Linked DNA regions of Homo sapiens: regions 2 and 3 are each linked to region 1. Evidence: promoter capture Hi-C in 16 types of primary human blood cells and fetal thymus (Javierre and others, 2016). All regions are on one chromosome and are shown on one strand. Each heading gives the region's core, a stretch centred on a gene start or on the middle of the fragment in contact. The rest is flanking DNA. Distances are from core to core; before and after follow the strand shown. Region 1 holds the start of PLIN1 (perilipin 1). Region 2 overlaps IDH2 (isocitrate dehydrogenase (NADP(+)) 2). Region 3 has its middle 17 kb from the start of ZNF710.

Region 1 (3,243 bases), core at 366-2,865:
TCTTTTTTTTTTTTTTTGAGATGGATTCTTGCTCTGTTGCCCAGGCTGGAGTGTAGTTGCACAATCTCGGCTCACTACAACCTCCGCCTCCCGGGTTCAAGGGATTCTCCTGCCTCAGCCTCCCAAGTAGCTGGGATTACAGGCGCCCACCACCACGCCCGGCTAGTTTTTTTTTTTTTTTCTGTTTAGTAGAGATGGGGTTTCACCATGTTGGCTAGGCTGGTGTCGAACTCCTGACCTCAAGTGATCCACCTGCCTAGACCTCCCAAAGTGCTGGGATTACAGGCATGAACCACCACACTGGCTAATTTTTGTATTTTTAGTAGAGATGGGGTTTCATCATGTTGGCCAGGCTGGTCTCGAACTCCTGGCCTCAAGTGATCTGCCCACCTTGGCCTCCCAAAGTGCTGTGATTACAGGCAAGAGCCACCATGCCCGGCCAAGAATAATGTTTCCTATAAGAGTTCAGGTTAAGAGGCCAGGCGCGGTGGCTCAGGCCTGTAATCCCGGCACTTTGGGAGTCCAAGGCAGGCAGATCACCTGAGTTCAGGAGTTCAAGACCAGCCTGGGCAACATGGTGAAACTCCGTCTCTGCTAAAAATACAAAAATTAGCCAGACGTGGTGGTGGGCAGCTGTAATCCCAGCTACTTGGGAGGCTGAGGCAGGAGGATCGCTTGAGCCTGAGAGGTGGAGGTTGCAGTGAGCTGAGATCCTGCCACTGCACTCCAGCCTGGGTGACAGAGGGAGACTCTGTCTCAAAAAAAAAAAGGAGTTCAGGTTAGGAAATAAAAAATGCAGGTAGCCATAAGAGATAAAAAGTTTTAGATAAAATCTTAAGGCTCTTAAATGAGGGTCCAAAAGAGACTAAAACAAGAAGTTTCAAGCTGGGTGCACTGGCAAGCACCTGTAATCCCAGCTACTGAGGCTGACATGGGAGAATTGCTTGAGCCCAGGAGTTTGAGATCAGCCTCGGCAATACAGTGAGATGCCCATCTCTAAAAAAATAAATAAACAAGTTAAAGGTTTCATCTTTGAAAAGGCTCTGGGTTAATTCCTCTATTTCTCTCTTTCTCTCTGTCTGTCCCTCTCCCCCTCTCCCTATCTGTTTTTTGAGACAGGGTCTCAATCTGTTGCCCAGGATGGAATGTGGTGGCACGATCATGGCTCAATGCAGCCTTGACCTCCTGGGATCAAGGTACCCTCCCACCTCAGCCTCTCATGTAGCTGGGACTACAGGCATGCACCACAATGCAGGGCTAATTTTTTCTCTTTTTTTATAGAGACAGGATCCCACTGTGTTGCCCAGGTTGTTCTTGAACTCCTGGGCTCAAGTGATCCACCTGCCTTGGCCACCTGCAGTGCTGGGATTAAAGGCATGATCCACTGTGCCTATCCAATTCCTCTATTTCTAGATTCTGGTATCTATACCAGAATCTCTCCCTCAGTAGTTTCCCTGCAGAGTTTTTCATCCCCAGCAAAATCCCCAAGAGGCCCTTACCTTCAACTTCTTCCCTTTAATGTTCATAAACAAGCCATGTAAGGCAGGTGCCCCAGGACCCCAACACTCACTCCGGCTGACCGCCACCTCAGTCTCACAGAGCCCAGGCTGCAGAGTGTCTCCTCAGGCAGAAACAATTCCTGTCACTCCTGGGAGGCTTGGGCAATGCTGCTTCCACCTCCCAGCTAGAGGAGGGCAGAGAGGGAGAGACAACAGGGTCAGCCAGTTGTCATGGTTATATGACCCAGGGTTCCCCAGGCATATCCTAACTTCTCTAAGGACATTTAGCAAACAAGGAGGTAGGTGGCAGAGCTGAAGGAGATCCAGGCTCAGAGGACTTAGTATTCCAGAGCCATGAAGCATCAGTTCTGTAATGTTCCTGCCCTCAATTCACAAAAATCTGCTTTCCAGAAAGAAGGTATAGGGATAGACATCATTAAACTCAAAAGCTCTAAAGTTCTATATACCTCTGCAATCTTTTGGCTCCTTTTCCATAGAGGGTCTTGTGGGAGTTTTCAATCCATTTCTCTCATCTTTTCTTATTTACTAGCAAGACTGAATGCTGAACAGTAAAATTTAAACCCACACAGAAGAGTTCATCTGAATGTATTCATCTTTGATTATGGAGATAAATTGCCCTCAGTGAAGAAGCGACAGAGCCGGGAGTTGAGTTTTTGACAATATAGCCTTTGAGTTGAGGGAGGAATTCCCACTTCTTAGAATTCAAAAAAATTTATTGAACTTTACCTGGCCTAAGATGCTACCAGAATGAAGAGTAGGAGAGCCAAGTAGATTTTTATTCTCCTGGGTCTGGATAAGCGACAGTGTTGACTAGGATTCTATCACTAATCAAGAGCACCCAGACAGCCAAGAATTAGCACCACTCAACCCTTCTTTACCCAGGACTCAAGCACAAGCCCAAGTTCTAGTTCCTGGCTTTAGATATGATGGAGGACTATGGTATAAGCCATAGCTTTCAGATTAACTAAGAAGGGCCTCTTCATGAAAACAGACAATAGGAAAACAAAACTTATTTTCTTTGTTGCTGGTGGAATTATATGTATTGTTGACTCTGTTAAGTCACACAGTGTGGGCAAGAGAAGAAAGAGGCAGGGGTGGGGAATTATGAAAGATCCTTGGTAATAAATTACGTATCTGTGATGCAATAAAGTAGGGAATGAGAAGGCAGGAAAGGGAGGAGTCAAGCAGGGAGGCTTCAAAGGAGTAATACGCTATACGTTTAATACTTATTGATCCAACCTGTGCTTTTCAAATGTAAGGCAGTAGAGAAGACAAAGTATTTAAAGAAGTGGCCTCTGCCCTCACCTCAAGGTTCAGCACAAATTATCTGTGAGGCTGTGACTGGACAGCAACCTGAGCCAAAGGGCAGTTTTCAGCCTTCAGAGTAGTGGCTTTGGGCCAGAGGGAACATAGGGCTTTGTGCCTGAAAGCTCTGCCAAATCAAATAGTCCTTTGGCTGCTTTAGCTGGGAGTGCAGAATGTGGGTGAGAGGTGAGAAGTGGTGAAAGGGCCTAGGAGAGTCCCGAGGGAAGACAGAAGTGTTAGTTTTCTAGCAGTAGCTTGCAGGGCATAGAGTTCTATCTTCTTTCCTTCTCCGTACCTACCTGCTTTCCCTACCCCTCCACCAAGTGAGAGCAGGGACCTAGGTCATCTTGCTCACAAGTGGATACCCAAAACCATGCATGGCACTCAAACATTCATTGTTGAATAAATGAATTGTCAG
Region 2 (3,243 bases), core at 367-2,866, 420 kb after region 1:
AATAGAAAAAAAATTAGCCTGGTGTGGTGACACACACCTGTAGTCCCAGCTATTTGGGAGGCTGAGGCAGGAGAATTGCTTGAACCCAGGAGGTGGAGGTTGCAGTGAGCAGAGATCATGCCACTGCACTCCAGCCTGGGTAACAGGAAGACTCCATCTCAAAATAAATAAATAAATATAATGGACAAAAGACTTAAATAGACATTTCAAGTCCAAAGATGATATACAAATGGCCAACAAGCACATGAAAAGATGCTCAACATCACTAATCATCAGGGAAATGCAAATCAAAACCATAATGAGATATCACCCCACTATCCCCTCACAACCACTAAGAGAGCTACTATCAGGAAAAGAAAAACAAAACAGAAAATAAAGTGCTAGCAAGGATGTGGAGAAATTGGAACTCTTGTGCCCTGTTGGTGGGAATGTGAAATGGTGCAGCTGCTGTGGAAAACAGTATGGGTGTTCCTTAGCTAAAAGGAAAAGAATTACTGCCGGGCACGGTGGCTCGCACCTGTAATCCCAGCACTGTGGAAGGCTGAGGCGGGTGGATCACGAGGTCAGAAGATCGAGACCATCCTGGCTAACACAGTGAAACCCTGACTCTACTAAAAATACAAAAAATTAGCCAGGCGTGGTGGCAGGCGCCTGTAGTCCCAGCTACTGGGGAGGCTGAGGCAGGAGAATGGCATGAACCCGGGAGGCGGAGCTTGCAGTGAGCTGAGATCGCGCCACTGCACTCCAGCATGGGCGAAAGAGAGCAAGACTCCGTCTCGAAAAAAAAAAAGAAAAGAAAAGGACAAGAATTACTATATGATCCAGCAATTCTGCTTCTGTATATACATCCAAAAATATCGAAAGCGGGGTCTGAAAGAGATATATGTATGCCCACATTCATAGCAGCAATGTTCACAACAGCAAAAGATAGAAGCAACCCACGTGTCCATCACAGATGAATGGATAAAGACAATGTGATACAGTCCCCCCTTATCAAAGGTTTTATTTCCATGACGTCAGTTACCTGTGGTGTCAGTTACCCACAGTCAACCATAGTCTGAAAATAGGTGAGTACAGTACAGTAAGATATTTTAAGAGATCACATTCATGTAACTTTCATTACAGTATATTGTTATAATTGTTCTATTTTATTACTAGTTATTATTGCTAATCTCTTACTGTTCCTAATTCATAAATTAAACTTTATCATAGATCTGTATGTATAGGAAAAAAACATAGTATCTACAGGCTTTGCAGTTTCAGGTATCCACTGGGGATCTTGAAATGCATCCTCCAAGGATAAGGGGGACTACTGTTATCTACATACAATGGAATATGATTCAGCCTTGAAAAGAAGGGAAATTCTGACACCTGCTACAAAGTGGATGAACCTGGGGGGCATTATGCTAACTAAGTGAAATAAACCAGTCACAAAAGACAAATACTATATGCTTCTACTTACATGAGGTACCTAGAATAGTCAAATTCATAGAAACAGAAAGTAAAAAGGTGGCTGCCAGGGACTGGGGACGGGAAGTGGGGAGGTATTGTTTCATGGGTAGAGAGTTTCGGTTTTGCAAGGTGACAAAGTTCTGGTGATGGATGGTGGTAATGTCTGCACAACAGTGCGAATGTACTTAACAATACTGTACACTGAACAATGACTAAGATGGTAAGTTTTATACGTTTTTTACCAAAATAATAAAAATTTAAACCAGTCAAAAAAAATCAGGAGATTTTATATAAAAATCTAGAAATGCAGCAGGCACTCACTCATGGCAAGGATGGGCTGGGCTGAAGGCGGCCTCTCCCTTCACTCCATGACAGCCAAGTGCCCTCCAGTGTGGCCCAGGGCACTGGAGTTTGAGACCCCTGTCTGCTGTTCAGCCTGTATGGTGGAGATACAGCCATGGTCTGCCCTTCTCTGAGAGATAAGTGGTGACAAGCTACCTGAAATACACAGAGCAGCAGCTAGGCCTCCCTGAAAACCTCCGAAGTGACAGCCACCACGAATCTTCAGCTGATGCATTGCACAAACACTGTCCTCTTGGCGAGAGTGCAGGATGGAATTACACCAGTCACCAGAGGCACGTTAGGCTGACTCTCCTCCCTGTCTGGGGCTCCTAGCACCCAATACCAAGTAAGGATTTCAAAACACATCCCTGGCTTCTTGCTGCTCCCAGCAGGAGGCTAGAGGTCCAGCCGCAGGCAGCCAGCCCCAGGCATAACTGCTCCCTCCACATTCCTACCCATGCTCTCAGCAGAAAGGCTGCTCAGTCAGCATGTCCCAGCAAAAGATCAGAGAGTGGGGAAAGGTTCCAATTCCTGGGGGCTCAAGAAGGCAGGACAGCAACTTTGTATATTTTATGTATGTATGTATGTATGTATGCATGCATGTATGTATGTATGTATGTATGTATGTATTGAGACAGAGTCTCACTCTGTCGCCTACACTGGAGGGCAGTGGCGTGATCTCGGCTCACTGCAAGCTCCACCTCCTGGGTTCAGGCAATTCTCCTGCCTCAGCCCCTGAGTAGCTGGGACTACAGGCGCCTGCCACCACACCCAGCTAATTTTTGTATTTTTAGTAGAGACCGGGTTTCACCATGGTGGCCAGGCAGGTCTCGAACTCCTGGCCCCAACTGATCCGCCTGCTTCGGCCTCCCAAAGTCCTGGGAGCCACCGCACGCGGCCAGAACAGCCATTTTGGAACAAACTCTAGTAGACTCCTTGGTGTCATCCTTCATTCCTTCCCTTCTCTCACATCCAAACCACCAAAACCAGAAGCCACCCTCAGACAAGCCCACCCTTGCCATAAGTGAGTGCCTGCTGCGTATCTAGATTTTTATGTAAAATCGCCTGAATTGGAACCTTTCCCCACTACTGGCTCCTCCTTCAAAATATATCCAGAATCCAACCACTTCTTCACCATCCCCAGCGCCACCACCCAGGTCCAAGCCATCATCCTCTCTTGCCAGGTCCCTGAAGCTAGAATGCTCCCGATAAGATGGAAATCAGGTAACGATACTCCTCTCAAAACCCTGCAAAGTAAAAGCGAAAGCTCTCAAAAATGGCCTGTGAGCCCTCTACAGACCCCACTGCCGAACCTCATCCTGTCACTCCACCTGGTGCCTGCTGAGCCAGCCTTCGCACCATCCTCTCTGCTCTTCCATCATGCCCTTGGCACCTGCGAGTCCCTCTTCCCCCAATACCGAAAATGGCCTGCTTCCTCCCCTCCTCAGC
Region 3 (3,243 bases), core at 466-2,965, 310 kb after region 1:
GCAACTTGAATCTATGCTCCCAAGTTGCAGTTTCCAAACTAGCCCCAGATAAATTCTCTACTTGTATTAATTTGCCTCAGTTTCTTTCTGTAAGTTAACGTATCTGGCACAGATCCACAGGATTCAGAGTGACCGCCACTGACTACCCAGTGTTCCCTCTGAGACTCAGTGCTGGGTGCCAGCCTCACTCTATTGTGTTCCTTTGACTCCAGTAATTTCAAACCCTCTCTTTCATTTAAGAATCAGGGCTTTGGTCTCTGTCTCTACACAGAAGATTCAGGAAAAGAGCTCTGCTGAGGACTTCTGCCTTCTCCAACTCTGCTTCAGGGCAAAAGGATCCAGTTATCGGCTGTCAGGTGCTGGTGGTTTCACCTCTCTTGGCAGAAAATAATGTAGCATTGCTTTTAAAATTGCAGCCCTCCTATTGATTGTAATTCAGACTTGTCTTTGAATTTCTGACTAATTCCCGTTCCAAACTGAAAGATGCATGAAGGTAAGTTGTCTTTGTGGGTTTATTTATTTATTTGAGACGGAGTCTCGCTCTGTCGCCCAGCTGGAGTGTAGTGGTGTGATCTCCACTCACTGCAACCTCCGCCTCCCTGATTCTGGTGATCCTCCTACCTCAGCCTCCCGAGTAGCTGGGATTACAGGCGCCTGCCATCAAACCCGGCTAATTTTTGTATTTTTGATAGAGATGGGGTTTCACCATGTTGGCCAGGCTGGTCTGGAACTCCTGACCTCAGGTGATCTGCCCACTTCCGCCTCCCACAGTGCTGGGATTACAGGTGTGAGACACCACACCTGGCTTTGGCATCCATTTTTAATCTTCTTCTAATACACCCAAACTCCCTGAAAATGTTTAAATTCTCTCTGTGCATTGAGATGCAAGTTTGCTACTCTGTTTTCTCAAAAACTTGACAAGGGCTTCAATAAGCTTTAACTTACTCCATTTAACAAGGCACAATTTAATCCAACTGTCCTTTTAAACTAGTGAGTTTTACCAGTTTTATGGCTAAAACTTTAAGTAAAAGCATTAACATCATTATTTTTGTGTCTGTGTAGGTTTTTTTTGTTTGTTTGTTTTGGATTTTTTGTTTGTTGGTTTTTTGAGACAAAGTCTCACTGTGTCACCCAGGCTGGAGTACCTTGACTTTCTGGGCTCAGGCAGTCCTCCCACCCTAGCCTCCCAAGTAGCTGGGACAATAGATGAGCACCACCCACACCCAGCTGATATTTTTAAAAATTATTTTTGTAGAGATGGGATCTCCTTATGTTGGCCAGGCTAGCCTCAAATTTTGGGCTCAAGTGATCCTCCAGCCCCAGCCTCCCAAAGTGCTGCGATTACAAGCATGAGCCACCCACCTGGCCTGTCTGTATTTTTTATGTATACAGCATACATGTCTTTGTTTGTATACTGTCTACATGGTTCCAAGTTGACTTGTAATAAATGAATGTTCATAAATTAAATACGTAAATCCAAATGCCTTTCTTCTCTCCCTTTCTTTCTTTCTTTCTTTCTTTCTCTTTCTTCCTTCCTTTCTTTCTTTCTTTCTTTCTTTCTTTCTTTCTCACTCTCCTTCCTTCCTTCCTTCTTTCCTTCATTCTTTCTTTCTTTTGTTCTTTCTTTTTTTGAGACAGGGTCTCACTCTGTCACGCAGGCTGGTATGCAGTGATGTGATCATAGCTTGCTGCATCTTTGAACTTCTGGGCTCAAGTGATCCCCTGCTTCAGCCTCCTGAGTAGCTAGGACTACAGGTACATGCCACCATGCCTGGCTACCAAATGCTTTTTAAGTTCATGTGACTTTAGTCATCTTTTATAAATAAAACTAGTTTTAAAATCGTTGGTAATATGAAATTAGGATTTTTCAGAATTGTCGGTATTAAATATAGTTAAGACATTTTTGCCTGGGTCTATGGGTTGGACGGGTTTTACTGTCTTTGCTAGATATTTTAAGGTCATACAGCTGTTGCTTCTGTAATTTTTTTATACTTTCTTGATTTATTTGTGAGCTAAAGCTGTGTGAGTGGCTGCTAGGCTTCCCTGAAGCATTGCATACATCTTACTGTGAGCTTCCGTCTTTGGTTTTGCACCTTTAGAGTCTGGATTCTACACAGGTGGCCATAGTAAGCCCTGAAGACATATGTATGTCTATAGCACCTAAGCCACCAGTGACAGGGCAGAGACAAACCCAATATGTCCTCCCTGGCCCAGCTGTGTTTCCTACCCATGTGGGAAAGGGTCAGATCCTCCAGGCATTGTCTTCACAGCTCCATCCTAAGCTCTACACCTGGCATATAAATTCAGGATCGAGATGGGCTCGCCCTTCATTGCCATCCTTGGTGCCACATGGGTACTTGGGACCCAAGATGACTGAGGAAGACACTGGGGAGGGTACTTGTATATTATAAGTCATCTTATCTTAAATTAATGAATATGTAATCATAAAATGTCTAAGTCATTTCTAAGTAAGTTAAAATACTGAAATATTAAACATAAGCTTATGTACTTGGGCATCTTATTTCTTTCTTTTCTTCTCTTTTTTTTTAGATAGAGTCTTGCTCTGTCACCCAGGCTGGAGTGCAGTGGCACAATCCCAACTCACTGCAACCTCACTTCCCTGGCTGAAGCGATCCTCCCACCTCAGCCTTGCAAGTAGCTGAGACCACAAGCATGCACCACCACGCCCAGCTAATTTTTTGTTTTTTGTAGAGATAAGATTTCACTATGTTGCCCAGGCTGGTCTTGAACTCCTGAGTTCAAGTGATCCATCTGCCTCAGCCTCCCAAAGTGCTAGGATTACAGGCCTGAGCCGCCATGCCTGGGCAGCATCTCATTTTCATATGGTATAGAAAAGCTAAAATACATTTAGATCGGTTAATAAACAAAAAAAATGAAGTAACATCTTCCTAAAAAGTTATGAAATGGTTTTCATCTATAAATAATGATATAAAATAGTTCAAAATAACTTATAGGTTTTTCACTAGAAACTAAGGTTACTAAGAGATAAAATTGTAGTTAATATGTGGAATTAAAACTACTAGTTCTAAGAGAAGCAATTATTTATACAGAACATATCAGAAAAATAGGATGTGTTTTTGGCAAAGAAGATTGTAAAGAAGGCATGACAGTGTGGTTTTTGTTCAAGGAAAAGTAATTTTGTCTGGGATTTTTTTTCTTTTTTTTTTAGGGACAGGATCTTGCTTTGTCACCCAGGCTGGAGTACAGTGGCACCATCAATAG

The links. The method cuts DNA at HindIII sites, captures the fragments that hold promoters and counts their contacts. A CHiCAGO score of 5 or more calls a contact.
Region 2: a contact is called between a fragment that was not itself captured here and the fragment with the promoter of PLIN1 in region 1, in 1 of 17 cell types (M2 macrophages). The highest score is 5.1, in M2 macrophages.
Region 3: a fragment that was not itself captured here is called in contact with the fragment with the promoter of PLIN1 in region 1 in 1 of 17 cell types (endothelial precursors); the score reaches 5.1 in endothelial precursors.

What each region holds. Positions count from the first base shown.
Region 1 is chr15:89,677,752-89,680,994 of GRCh38, forward strand. PLIN1 (perilipin 1) reads right to left here and starts at 1,616. Exons shown (of 9, transcript NM_002666.5): 1 at 1,500-1,616. The HindIII fragment of the contact is 7,659 bases long and covers 1-3,243 here.
Region 2 is chr15:90,096,138-90,099,380 of GRCh38, forward strand. All of the region lies in intron 1 of IDH2 (isocitrate dehydrogenase (NADP(+)) 2), which reads right to left. Among named protein-coding and RNA genes, the nearest start is that of IDH2-DT, 4.4 kb to the right of the region's middle. The HindIII fragment of the contact is 4,798 bases long and covers 1-3,243 here.
Region 3 is chr15:89,982,660-89,985,902 of GRCh38, forward strand. No RefSeq gene overlaps it. Among named protein-coding and RNA genes, the nearest start is that of ZNF710, 17 kb to the right of the region's middle. RefSeq lists an enhancer at 1-299. The HindIII fragment of the contact is 1,566 bases long and covers 933-2,498 here.